3 separate regions of the Homo sapiens genome follow, and regions 2 and 3 are each linked to region 1. The links are contacts of gene promoters, found by promoter capture Hi-C in blood cells and fetal thymus (Javierre and others, 2016). All regions are on one chromosome and are shown on one strand. Each heading gives the region's core, a stretch centred on a gene start or on the middle of the fragment in contact. The rest is flanking DNA. Distances are from core to core; before and after follow the strand shown.

Evidence for each region. The method cuts DNA at HindIII sites, captures the fragments that hold promoters and counts their contacts. A CHiCAGO score of 5 or more calls a contact.
Region 2: a fragment that was not itself captured here is called in contact with the fragment with the promoter of SMARCAD1 in region 1 in 1 of 17 cell types (total B cells); the score reaches 6.4 in total B cells.
Region 3: the fragment with the promoter of TIGD2 here is called in contact with the fragment with the promoter of SMARCAD1 in region 1 in 6 of 17 cell types (naive B cells, non-activated CD4 T cells, total B cells and 3 more); the score reaches 20.5 in naive B cells.

The regions. Positions count from the first base shown.
Region 1 is chr4:94,205,188-94,209,889 of GRCh38, reverse strand. It overlaps SMARCAD1 (SNF2 related chromatin remodeling ATPase with DExD box 1), which reads right to left and starts at 2,025. Exons shown (of 24, transcript NM_020159.5): 1 at 1,820-2,025; 2 at 1,306-1,544. The coding sequence starts at 1,495. It overlaps SMARCAD1-DT (SMARCAD1 divergent transcript), which reads left to right and starts at 2,334. Exons shown (of 9, transcript NR_125922.1): 1 at 2,334-2,360. RefSeq lists enhancers at 1,445-1,948, 2,047-2,406. The HindIII fragment of the contact is 2,630 bases long and covers 1-2,584 here.
Region 2 is chr4:99,806,112-99,810,813 of GRCh38, reverse strand. No RefSeq gene overlaps it. Among named protein-coding and RNA genes, the nearest start is that of DAPP1, 8.4 kb to the left of the region's middle. The HindIII fragment of the contact is 585 bases long and covers 2,045-2,629 here.
Region 3 is chr4:89,109,689-89,114,390 of GRCh38, reverse strand. It overlaps TIGD2 (tigger transposable element derived 2), which reads right to left and starts at 2,858. Exons shown (of 2, transcript NM_145715.3): 1 at 2,508-2,858; 2 at 1-2,324. The coding sequence starts at 1,416. RefSeq lists a silencer at 2,601-3,050 and enhancers at 3,131-3,210, 3,241-3,350. The HindIII fragment of the contact is 10,355 bases long and covers 1,374-4,702 here.

The sequences.
Region 1 (4,702 bases), core at 776-3,275:
ATCTAACTACAGAGGAAACAGACAAATATATTCATTGGAAAAGCATTAAAATACCTGGATGTCAAATATCTATTCAAAGAGTGAACACAGGGATTAAAATCCTGGTGCTTAAAATCCTTCAGTTGTTCCCTATAGCATTTAAATTCAAAACTACTTAGACAAAGCCTTTGTAAATCTGACTCCTAATCCAATCTACCAAATCATTCTGCCAATTTCCAATTACACCAAAGTATTTAAAAATGTTATTCTAATGATAACTTGCAGAGGATCTGCCATCATTATTACATTTAAGTAGAAGGGTGGCAAACAAAAAGATACCAAGGATAAACATGTGTGTTACCAATCTTTCAGGCTACATTAAGTTAAAAGCTGTTTACGAAACAGAGTTTTGCATAAAAAAAGATATTACTGAAATAAATATTAAAATATAACTTCCAACATTCCTTTCACCTTTCCTAAGAAACTAACTAATTAGTTTATGCTCAGGAATCATACTGCCAGGACTTGAGTTCAGGCTCTACCAAGTTCCTAATAACCTCTCTGAATCTCATTTCACATTAACCTCTATGTCAGTAATATCTACCTTGTAGGATTATTGTGCAAATTAAATGACAGAAGGTGAAGCACTTATCACTATTCCTATAATACAACAAGAGCTCAAATATATTCCTCTAATAGTTAACTGTTCAATGAACATAGATTCGAGTGGAAATCTTAATTTTTGGCTTATCCTCAAATACTTTTGTCTCTGACAATCTGCTGATGAGGTTAAAAATGTTCATTCACCATGAAGAATACCAATTACTCATTTGCATTCTGAGGACATCCAGGAAGTCAGGTGGATGCAAGAACTTGATGTGATCTGATCTTCCCTTGTGTACAGAGGTTGTCTTTAGGCACCTTGCTCAATGTCTAGCTCACAGTAGATGATCAATATTTTGAGGGAATACTGGAATGAATGAAAATGTCTGCCCAAATAGCCTCAAAGTTTATCATAGGACTGAATCACTGACATCGCTCTTCCAATAGCAACCGTTCTGACCTATGGATGCCCTAAATTCTAATTTCAACTTCCACCATGGGGCCATATTCGAAGAACTCATATAAAAGTGAGGCGACAATGGATGGATGCTCAGTTGAGGGTACATGGTGCTTATGGCAGTCCCAAAGCTGTATTTAAAAGGGCACACCGCAGGACAATGCATCAATATATATGACATCAAGAATAAAAATGAGAATCCCTTCTGCCTTTCATCTTTTAAAAACTGTCCTTGATGTTACATCAATTTTAACATTGTAACTCACCTGTTTTTTCAGTTATATCTGAATCAGGAGTGTTTGCCCTGCTAACTTCCCCTTCAGCATTCTCCTCTTCAGCACTAAGAGAAATTGGTGAAGAAGGGCCAGGCTGGGAAGGTTGAGGGGTTGCTTCGGGCGCTTCCTCAATCTTATTCCTTTTCTCAAAGCGAAAACGGTCCAGGTTGAAAAGATTCATATTGGTAGAAAGCACCACCTTGCAGGGATGGGGGCTTTAAATGAACTATCTGCAGGGGAAAAATAAAGAGAGGAAAAAAGGCCATGAAAACAATATACGATACAATGCCACAGCAGTTTATTCCCAAGGCAATAAAGGGCCCGCAAACATGCCAGTGGCTCAGGACTGTTATGGCTGCGCTTCATTGTTAGGCCGCAACAATTAGAAGGTGGACGGGGGTATCTTTTAAAATTTTCCATTGCTTTTCACTCCCCTTCGTCCGCCTCCCCCGCCCGCCCCTCCTTACTGAAACCACGAGCTGACCCTCATGCAACCTCCTCTTACCCAAGCACGCGCAGGCACGTTCCCCAGTATAACCCCCTAGCGGGCCTCGCGCCCGCCCACAAAGAGAAGCTCCCTGTGCTACCGTGCCCCCTGCCTCGAGAAAGGACCTGCCAGGGCCCGCGCCTCGACACTGCGGGGACACAAAGGGGCCAAAGAAGGGGAGCGGCGGAGGCCGTGCTGGCGGGCATCCGCCCGGAAGTTGACGCGGCGCGATCCCAGCTGAGAGGAAGCTGATAGGATTAAGAACACACAGGAAGGTTCAGAGGTGGAGTGCATGCTAAGGCATCTTTTTAACGTTCAATCGCTCGCTTGTTCTTTCTTCCCTCAGTACTTACGATCTTGTAGCCTCAGTGCTATGTAACAAAGGTTGAAAATAAAAAAAAAATTTCCTAGCGTGGGGCGACGGTAGCCGTGCCGGGACCTTCCAAAACACCACGGAGAAACCTTAAGAGCGCGTAATGATGACGCAACACGCAGCCTAGGCTTTTTCTTCCCAAACAACGCGCGAGCCGACAATGTCGAGGCGCGCGCTGTTGTCATGGTAATTCGTACCCGTCTCCGCCGGCTTGTAAGGGCCAGATTGTTCTGTACCTTTGTCCTGTTAAATTATCTAGAGAGTTATTAAATAGAACAATAGTAAATAGCATAATGACAAAAAATAACAATATATAATACAATTAGTATATATTGTATGTATTATAATCTGTAGTGTTTCACCTATAATATAATGTAGATAGCATAATAGTAATAATACTGTGCTAAGCTTTTTCAGTGTATAATCCCAATCCTTACAAGAAGCCTATGTTTACAAAGCAAAGAAACTGAGACCTGCAAATGTATAGGTAATTAGTGACGGATAAGAACCCCGGGATGCTGAGCTTCAAAGCATTTAAAGTAATTCCTCACTTTCGGCTTGATTGTTCTTAGAATGGAATTTGATTAATTAATTAATTTTTTAAAAATATTTTAATTTTTAATGTTTGCGGGTACATAGTAGGTGTACATATTTATAGGGTACATGAGATATTTTGATACAGGCATGCAATGTGTAATAATCATATCAGGGTAAGTGGGGTATCCATAACAAGCATTTATCCTTTGTGTTTCAAACAATCCAGTTATTTTAGTCATTTAAAAATGTACAATAAGCTGGGAGTGGTGGCTCACGCCTGTAATCCCAGCACTTTGGGGGGCTGAGGCAGGTGAATCACAAGGTCAGGAGTTTGAGACCAGCCTAGCCAACATGGTGAAACTCCGTCTCTGCTAAATATACAAAAAATTAGCCGGGCGTAGTGGCGGGCGCCTGTAATCTCAGCTAATCGGGAGGCTGAGGCAGGAGAATAGCTTGAACCTGGGATGCGGAGGTTGCAGTTAGCCGAGATCACTCCACTGCACTCCACCCTGGGCAACAAAGCAAGACTCTTGTCTCAAAAAAAAAAGTACAATAAATTGTTGTTGACTGTAGTCATGCTATTGTGCTATCAAATACTAGATCTTATTCATTCAAACTGTATTTTCGTACCCATTAACCATGCTCACCGACCACCGGGGTCCTCCCCCGCCCCACACTACCCTTCCCAGCCTCTGGTAGCCATCGTTCTACCGTTTCTCATACGTTCAATTGTTTTAATTTTTTAGCTCCCACAAATATAATAAATGAGAACATACCAAGTTTTTTTTCTGTGCCTGCCTTATTTCCTTTAATATAATGACCTCCAGTTCCATCCATGTTGCAAATGACAGGATCTCATTTTTTTTAATGGCGAAATAATACTCCACTGTGTATATGCACCACATTTTTCTTATTCATTCACCTGTTAATGGACACTTAAGTTGCTTCCAAATCTTGGCTGTTGTGAATAGTGCTGCAACAAACATGAGAATGCAGATATCATTTCGATACACTGATTTCCTTTCTTTTGCATATAATTCACCTATCTTGATGGAAATGTTAGCTTAAGAATATATACTCCTGGCCGGGCGCAGTGGCTCACGCCTGTAATCCCAGCACTTTGGGAGGTGGAGGCGGGCGGATCATGAGGTCAGGAGATCGAGACCATCCTGGCCAACACGGTGAAACCCCGTCTCAACTAAAAATACAAAAAATTAGCCGGGCGTGGTGGCGGGCGCCTGTAGTCCTACCTACTCGGGAGGCTGAGGCAGGAGAATGGCATGAACCAGGGAGGCGGAGCTTGCAGTGAGCCGAGATCACGCCATTGCACTCCAGCCTGGGCAACTCCATCTCAAAAAAACAAAGAATATATACTCCTGGGCTAGGAGCAGTGGCTCACGTCTGTTATCCCAGCACTTTGGGAGGCCAAGGCAGAGCTGGGGCAACATAGTGAGACCCCATCTCTAAAAAAAATACAAAGTTATCCAGGCATGATGGCACACGTCTGTAGTCCCAGCTACTTTGGGGGCTGAGGCAGGAGGATCACTTGAGCCTGGGAGGTCGAGGCTGCAGTGAGCCATGTTTGCACCACTGCACTCTGGCCTGGGTGACAGAGCAAGACCCTGTCTCAAAAAAACAAAAAACTAAGATATACTCCCTTTGTTCCAACATTAGACAAGCAATTTTCTGAGTTATAATTTGAGCTTCTGGTTGGCATTTCCCATAAAGAGGAATTGCTACAAATGATCATTCTGCCAGATATATTAGCCATTGTAAACTTAAATTGCCAGTTTGTTTTATAAGTCAGTGTTGTGAATTGTATATTTACAACACATACCCACAGTTTTATCAAATGTGGGCACATTTATAAAATCAGGTGTCTGGGCCAATAAAACTCAAGATCAAAGCCTGAACAATTAGGACTTCCTTTATACCTATCTTTAATATCCCATGAAATGCATTAGTTTTATGCATGCATATTAAATTATGTG
Region 2 (4,702 bases), core at 1,088-3,587, 5.6 Mb before region 1:
AAACAGAAATTTATTTCTCACATTTCTGGAGTCTAGGAAGTCCAAGATCAAGGCACCAGCAGATGTGGGGTCTGATAATGCCTGATTCATGGTTCATAGATGCTGGCTGTCTTCTTGCTGTGTCTTCACATGGTGGGAGGGGCTGGGAAGTTCCCTGGGACCTCTTTTATAAGACATGAATCCCATTAATGAGAATTATGACCTTATGACTTAATCACCTCCCAAAGGCTCCACCTCCAAATACCATCACATTGGGGATTAGGCTTTTACATAGGAATTTTGTGGGACACAAATGTTCAGTTTTTGGTAGGGAGTGAGGAATGGTTTGCCTCTGCTGAGAGGTATATTCTGTCATTGACATTGGTTAGAATTGCTGGTTTCTGGTGATAATAAAGAGCAGAATGACTTCTCATTGGTTTTATCATTATCATTGTTTCTTTATTCCCTTTCTTTCTTTTTTTTTTTTTTTTTTTTTTTTTTAGAGAGTGTCTGGCTCTGTCACCCAGGCTGGAGTGCAGTGGCATGATCTCACCTCACTGCAATGTCTGCCTCCTCAGCTCAAGCCATCCTCCCACCTCAGCCTCCTGAATAGCTGGGACTACAAGCATGCACCACTACACCAGGCTTATTTTTGTATTTTTTGGTAGAGACACGATTTTGCCATTCTTTCCAGGCTGGTCTTGAATTCCTGGGTTGAAGCAATCCTCCCGCCTCAGGCTCCCAAAGTGTTAGGTTTATAGGCATGAGCCACAACGCACAGCCTGTTTCTTTATTGTTATTGACTATACCAGGGATTAAAGTGCTCCCAAGCACCCCCTCACCTTTGTATGTCACTGGTAAAAAAGATTCTTATATTAGAAGGAAAGTTATTCTAAGTCACTTTTAAGTTCCCTTTTAACTTTGAAATAATGTGACTTTTTAGAAACAAATACCCAGGGTTGCTGAAGCTATCCTGCACACATACATAATATATATTAGGCTTTCTTGCTGAAGCTGGGGATGATTTATATTTAACCAAACACCTCTTAGCACAGCAAATCAACATGCCTTCAGATAGAGCAGTGTTAATACATTATTCCAATAATGTTAAGAGAGCACATGTGTGGTTTAAGAAGAGTGCTGTGTTTTGCATGTCTCCTAATTTCCTAGAACTTCACTCTGGCTTTCTTAACAGGTAATGCAAACAGATTAAGTGATATTATGCTCCCTTCCGCAAAGGCTTTACTTCAGCACTTACTTTACCATTTTTAGATGCAGTGTCTTAAAAATATGCAAACATGTGCACTTGTGGGTGAGTGTGGCAGATGCTGTTTGTGCTGGTGAAGCAAGGCACCATCTGCATGGAAAGGTCATGCTTAATTGTGTCAGCACTGATTTCTGAGTAATGAAAGCCTGGACAAAAATGAAACTTCAAACACACCAGCATTTTTGCATTTAAGTCTGCAAAAGTAGCTGCTAACTCAACCAAATGAAATTAAACAAGGTTACGCACTTTTGGATCCTGTGGGCCCTATCCAAATACTTTTTGTCTTCTTGTCCACACTTCATCTGAAAAGATTGCTGTGTTAACTAACGGGAGCTAATGGCAAATAACAAAGATAATTTGACCAACTGGCCAGCTGAGATATCTCCCAGATTCTTAGCTTCCACGAAGCACCAGGGTAGATTCAGCTTTTGAAAATGGGTAAAATTTGAAATCGTTCATGATAATGTGTGTGAATGGAGCAGCTCAGCCAAAATGTCAGAACGTTTGGTCTACCTTGGGGTAGGACTTCAGAAATGAATAAGAGGAGTCTTAGAGCTTTTCATGGAGAGCATCTTAGAGGGAACCTACTTCAGTTCCCCTATTTAACAGGTTGGGCAAGTGGGGTTGGAAACTATTAAGATACTTGCCTGAGATTTCACCCCTAGTTACAGGGATTCTGGCACTTCTGACTGAGCCCAATTCTTTCCTTGCTGAGTCCAGTAATAATACAGCTAACTTTGGTGCTTTCTTTTAAATCACAAAATGTTTTCCAGGCCAGCATTAAATTAATAGAAAGCTTGAACCTCAGATGTATGTTATTTGTCCATTTGAAGCCTGCGTAAAACAAACTCCGCGGGAGTAAAAACTGTGGCTTACAGGTCCTCATATGACTTACTTTGAAACCCCATCAAAATAAATATTTCTTAAAATAGCCCTGGAAGCAATGAGAATGGACATTATAGAAAATATAGCCTTACTCTAGCGCTCCCCTCGCCACCCCCAACCCCCGGGTGTATTTAATTTGTGGATTCGCCCTACTGGCTGTGCTTACTACACCTCTTCCCCTCCACTTCCACAGGCAGGACCTCTGTGATGAGGATATGCTATCACTAGGTGGCAGTAATACCGCGTTGGTGGGCGCGGGGGAGCTGTTTTACCTGAAGTCAAGATTAGATCCATCGCTTTTTCCTTCCTCTCTATGAAAGTATAGTTCTTTATTAAAGTAGCTGAATTCAGGTGATACTACCCAACACCACATTTGTAGAAGATTCCTTAAACGCCAGACTACTAAACCATTAAATGATTCAGGTATAATTTATTACCTGTCTCACCAAGTTTTAAATGGTTCAATTCTTAGTTCTGCTCTCTTTTCCCTTTAAAGCTTTGAGACCTTTACTGAAAGAATTTAAATGAGTAGGAAGTGATTGAAATCTAAAAATTCAATTTTATACCTAAAAATGATTTTCATTTCTGCAATTGCAATATATTTTAAGCACTTACTTTTTCCTCAGCTCATTTGGTAAATATAAATCTTCAAAGCATTTCAATTTTCATTTAAAATAAGGAATGTAGGTGACTCTAAAACTGCTAACGTAGAGCCCTGTCACAGTAACGGTGACTGGAAATAGTGAAAATTCTTCAGGGTTCTCAGCGTTACAGTGAAGGCAGCTTGGGAACAGCTCCCCGATTACAGAGACAGTGACTCAGCCACAGCAACAACTTTGAAGTAGATTTTGTCACTGTTCCTGGGTGGCCCATGGGTCTGAGTTTTCTCTGTTAATCATATAAATATGAGATCTTTGGTATTTTAAATATTTTAAGGGTGGTAAAGAGAAGTTTCTCTTAACATGTAAATGTTTTTGTTCTGTCTATCTAAAGGAGACATTATAGAGATGATTTTTTTTGAGATGGGGGTCTCACTGTGTTGTCCAGGTTGGTGTTGAACTCCTGGCCTTAAGTGATCCTCCTGCCTCAGTCTCTCAAAGTGCTGGGATTACAGGCATCCGTCATTGTGCCCAGACACAAAGTGAATTTTATCCAGAAGGTTAGGTGGGGGATGGAAGCAGGAGGAAGAGCAAAATTATGAGGAACTATGAGTGGTTAAAAAAAAAATGTGAAGAGAGCAGGAGAACTATAAAAGAGAGTACTGACAGGATGGTGTGATAGGTGACTGAACCAGTAATCCACCCGAAGCAAAAAGGATAAACCTGGCCCTGAAGGGGGCCACATCAGAGCAAAAATAAAGGCTTCAGAAGACCCTGGAGGGTGGGGAGCATGGAGGTGACACACTGGAAGCTGAAAGCTAAGGGCTGCAGCAGGGCTTCTCCCAGGACAGGCTGTGCACCACCAGCCTCAAAATCCCCAAGGCACAGGGCCCTGGGGCCTGCATCTTGGACAGTTGCCCCAGGTGATTCTGATGTTCGGCAAAGGTTGAAGAGCACCCGAGTCTGTGGAAGAGCCTGCAGACCAAAAGTAATGTGGTGACGGGTCTGTGGGCTCCTGGGGCAATAACGAGTGCCATAAGCCTGTGCCAAGAAAAGATGGTACCTTGTGACCTAATAAGCTATCCACGTTTGTGTCAGTCAACACCCATCACAAAAGAAGCCTGTCATTCCTTGGACCATCTGTGTGTGCTCACGAGCAATGGGCTGTGTAAGGAGAAAAAGAAGGACTTCCAAAACCAAGAAAGGTTTTCGGGCTTGGAGGTATCAACTAAGTAACCTCAAACTCTTTTGTCTCAGTAACTCTTGGCTGCAGCTCAGCTGAGACTCAGCTATGCTGGCATCAGGAGTTGGCGGCTCCCTGTGGAGATCCTCCAAGTGCTCTCAGCAAACAAGGCCTTCTTAGGGTAATAGGTTGCTCGATGACACTGATGATCCAGATGACCAGAGGTCCCATGGTGGGGGACTTAACTTGATCCAGGCTTAGGATACAAACCAGTCTGACAGACAAGGGCAAATAGGAAAGGGATGGAGCTGGACTTCTGGGAGTAAAAAAGGGAGTCCCTGGGAGGAAGAATCCTTATAGGTGAGGATTCACGGCTTCAGGGCCAAGGGCAGGCAGGTCTTGGTGGTTGTTCTTGGCCTTAACTCAACCTAATCTTGCCTACTCTCTAGCAAGATTTTGTGTCCTGGAAGGAAAGGGCATGATGATGCTCAGTAGTGTTATTGCTTCCTAAGTGATCCAAGTCACCTCAGCCTGTTGGGTTGAGGGAATCCAAGTCCCCTAACCCTTTCCTTTAATTAATGAAAAGAATATCCCCTCCAGGCTTCCCTATCTCACATGCTGTGGCCAATCCAGTGATCTGACAATCCAGTGAGATTTCCATGAATTCTGGGGGCTTACAATATCATAGTTTCTGTTCCTCTTACTTCCTGCTTCCATTGACATCTAAGCCACTGAGCCAGTCAGCCAGCGTGCCTTGTGAGGTTGTTCTCTTCTCTCTGTACCACCTGA
Region 3 (4,702 bases), core at 1,609-4,108, 5.1 Mb after region 1:
TGGATTCAGTTCTGTTTTTCTACTCTTACTGGAAGGCTTTTGCTCAGCAGCCTTGGTCTGGTCCTCAGCACTTTCACTGTCAGTCAGCACCTGACAGCTTGAGTCACTGCTCCGAGAGTCGAACCACTGATCAATATTCTCAATGTCAACATGTTCACATTCTTCTGTGTTCTGTAAAACTGTTGCTAAATTAGCTGCTAAAATGGCTCCTTCATCAATGTTCATACCTGAATTCTCTTCATTGCCAGGGAAAAGTTTTTTCCATGCTTTGGTTATGGTACTTGATTTTACCATGTTCCAAGCTCTTGACACTTCATAAATTGCATCCAACACTGTCAAGTTCTTCCAAAATATTTTTGGGTCATTTCCTTCATCCATGTATTTCTGGAGAAGTCCTGCTCGATAGTATCTTTTTACAGTGGCTAGAACTCCCTGGCTCATTGGTTGAATCAGACTTGTGACATTTGGTGGCAAATACTTCACAATTATTCTGCCATCATCTGAACTCAACATTTCTTCATTTGGACGTGCTGGGGGGAAATCTAAAAGAAGCACTGCTTTTTCTAAAAGTCCCTTGGATTTCAAATGCTTCTGTACCTGTGGCACAAAGTACTTTTCAAACCACTGTCTGAAAACAGACTGTTCTATCCATGCACCTTTTTGACTGTAATATGTCACAGGAAGGTTTGAAAGGTCAGTGCCTTTGAATGCTCGGGGCTTTTTGGCCTTCCCCACAACACAAAGATTAAGTTTGTGTAAACCTGTGGCATTTGCGCAACACATAATGATGATTCTCTCTCTGCTTGACCTACACCCAGAAGTACTTTGGTCAGTTTCAAGAGTTAATGTCCTTGATGGTAGACATTTCCAAAACAATCCAGTTTGATCAGCACCATAAATTTGCTCTGGTTGTAGATTCTCTTTTTCAACAAATTCCTGAAAGCTACCACAAAATTCTCTGGCAGCAGTTTCATCTCCTTTTAATTTTGTTCCTTTACCAGCAGCCTTTGGAATACCATGGCGCTGCTTAAATCGAGTTAGCCAGCCTGACGATGCATTAAAATCACCTTCCATTCCCAAAGCATCAAAAAAGAACTTGGCTTGTTTTGCACAAATCGTTCCGGACACTGGAATCCCATCTGTTTTCTGTTGGTTAAACCACTCTATCATAACTCTATCAAGCTCCTCGTATGTTGATGACTTCATAGATTTACGTTTGGATACTCCACTGGTAGGATCTGAACTGTTTGCATAGTTTATAATCCTTTCTTTGTTCTTTTTAATATCACGAACTGTGGATTCACCAATTCCGTACACCACGGAAAGTTTTTTGAAAGAGATGCCTTCCTCAAGTTTCTTAATAATGTCAAGCTTGTCCTTAATTGTCAACACCACACGCTTACGTTTCCCCAACATTTTAAGTGTCTAATATTTTAGGTGATTACTAGAACAAGATAATTAACAACTAAGATTTGAATACAAAGCAACTAGAAAATGAGTTCGTAAGATTCCTCCTCTCACTTCTAGGGCCTAGATGGATAGTGACCAATTTCCTGACAAGGTCTACGTGAATCTACTTGCTATTTTAAAACTTACAAACTTCCTACAACAAAGCCTAGCGCCAATTAACTCTTATCTTCTATCTTTCTTCCTCCTCAGGGTTCAGGGTCTTTCATGAAGTGCAATCACACTAGAGGCTAGAAACTGTACTGGTAAGGCTTCTAAAACAGTACTATTGCATACTCAATTCTTGCCATCCTTGCAGGTAATGTTCTTTGCCAGAATAGCCACTAAATCTCAGGTGGAAGTATTTTAGGAAATGTGCTAGGGAGTAAACAGTTTAAGTCAAGAGAGGACTTGCAAACTTGACATACAGGAAAATACAATGGGAAAACTCACCCTCTGACTATGTGGTCTTTGTCAAGCAGTGGATTGTATGGAATGCTGTCTCTCTAGGCACGGACTCTGCTATAGGTTGCGCAAGTGAGTGCTTGTGGAAATCATACGCAAGAGAAGATGACCCGGACAGAAGTGAACAGTGCAAATAAGGTGAAAGTGGAACAGGCAGAAAACTCTACTTTAAAAGCGACTTAAACCTACTAGATTTGGCAGCTGGAAAGGAGGATAGTGGACATGTGATGTCACATTACTAAAGAAAGCATCAAAAAAACTGCATCGGTGGAAATGAGGACCCAAGGTAGAGGCTATGGGGTGGCAGGCTCGGTGAAGATGATGTTACAATAATCCTGGTGAAAGACGATCCTCGATGGACCAACAGAAGCAGTTCCTGTGGGGGCTGTAGAGATACTCGGAGGCTCCGAAACCTAAAGGAAAATACCAAAAACATTTTCTTTCAATTCAACATCAGGATCTGTGGCATTATCCACATTTATCCTGCAACTATGTTGAGAAAATTAACGCCTCCTATCAATGTGATAGCTAAATACGACAAATAATGCTTTCAGGCATAATCTGGGGTGACAGAGAGAGGGACCTGAAGAGCCTACCTCCTGAAATTAAGAGGTCAGGGAGAAGCCGTGTTAGCGAGGGCCTCTCCCCGCTGGGCGAGCTTCAGAGCGCGGGACGTCTTTCCTCCCGCGGAGGGAGCCCGGATTCCGCCTGGACGCCGGCGACCAGGATGTCACTGCTGCAGCCAGCCAGCCAGCGGGCGGCCGCTTGGCACAGGGAACGCCAGTCCGCCGGCCCCGGGCATCGCCCTGGGACCGCCTGCGCGGCGCCCAGACCACACTAAGCGCAAATGGAGTCTCCTGAGGCAGGCTGGCACTGGTGGCCCGGCAGCGGCGAGGGACGAGCGGAGAGGGACGAGCGTCGCCGCCGGAGCCGGAAGGCGGGGGATTAGAGAGCACGCGCGCGCCCCCGCAGAACGTTGTGCCGGCGAGGGGGCGGGGCCTGCGCGGGTGAGCGCACGCGGCCCGGGGGAGGGGACTCCGGCGAGCGGGCGGGAGGGGCGGGGGCCCGGCAGGGGTGCGTCTCTAGGCGCTGCGTGGGTTCCACTCACCGCCTGGCCGTTTCGGGGCCGCAGTGCCTCCCTGGCCGGCAGGGGGAGGCACACGCTCGCCTTGTCCTGGCGCTTTTCCCAGTGGCCCGGCTCTGCCGACGAGGCTCTTTTCTCCCTAGGGGGAAATTTTAAAATCTCACCCCCCCAGTGCTGGGGGGAAAGCGGAGGATCCTCGCGTGCCGGGAGCGGGCTGCGAATGGGGCAGGGCGAGCGCACGTGGGGCGTGTTTACAAACAGCAGCCGCGCCGCCTTGCGGAGGCGGTCCAGGTGTCGGAGCCCAGAGTCAGCGCGCGTGGAAAGTGCTAGCCCGAGCGAGGATCATGAGGCACGGTAGGAGCCGGCGGACGTGGGTTCCGGGCAGGAGCTGGGGCGTTCGCTCGGCAACACCCAGCCGGACAAGCCCAGGGTGCCGAGGCGCGGCGGGCTGCGGTAGAGCCGAGTGTCGGGTCAGCGCTCCCCGGTGCTGATGCTCCGAAACTCGTCACAGTCGCTGTAGAGACGGACCCTTTGCAAAATCGACAGCACCTGGGAGACCCTTGAGCCAGTGGGAGGCGTCGTGGTAAATTTCCTGCCGTGCCTCGACGCCCGGGGCTTCTCAAGTGGAATCGGGGAATTGCGCTTTGACTGATACTCCCTTTATTTGTTTCCAACGGAGACATCTGCGGAAGGGTCACCGCCTTCCTGGAGGAGAGAGTGGTGCACCTCCACCTTGCACCACCTGTTTCCTGGGAAACGCGGTCAGGCTGCCTTCCTTTCCGTCTTGTGTGTGCGTGTCAGTTTGAAAAATTGGAAATTCTTCAGTGAATTATCTCTTCCATATGAACATAAATGTAACCTTTTCGTTAACACAAAGTAACATAGTAATTCGTCATTTCTTTGACAAGGCCATATACTGTTTCTGGAATTTCAGAAACTTGGAGATGGAAATCAAAGCGAGCATACTGTAGAAAACAGATGTTGATTCTAAGCCTTCTGTTTGACTCCGCCGCCAAAACTGCTCAATTGCCTTTCTCAACATAGCAGCCTTCCACTATCTGGCATGACAGAAATTCTTTGATCTAGTTATGTTGTGAGGTTGTAAGTGGCTTTTGGAGAATACCTGCTTTTAGACCTCCCCTCTTCCCTGCCTTCCATTTGGCTTCCAACAAGCCAGTCCCTTTCTGGAAGTCCTGGTTGCCTGTTTTGGGTACATTATAACTTACTTCATGGTAGTTTTATATAACTTTACAAAATATTCTTATTTTCCCTGATACCTGTGAAGAGCGTGAAAGACTGCTAGAACAGCACTTTACCGACTGCCACCCATGTGGAAATGAGGCAGCCTGTAACCAGATGTCAGCCGCCTGCCTTTCCGCCTCTCCCCCGAGTCTGCTGGAGTAGCTGTGTCCCAGGATATTTAAATACAAAGGAATCCTGCCTCTTACTCTTCCTCTCTTTTCCACAGTATCTCTAGGATTTAATTTTCTTCCAGATACCATTTGCATTTTTCTCTGTTCCTCCTGGATTCTCCAGTTTGCTGTTTTATGTCTTATAGCTGTTCCCTTTTTATCACCTTGTGTAAGTTCAAATCTGGATACAGCCCACATTTCTAGATTTTCTCAAAACACCGCTTGACTCAAGGCAATTGTATTTAGTAGACTTTTACTAAGATTTTACTCAAGGCAATTGTGTCTTTACACAAAA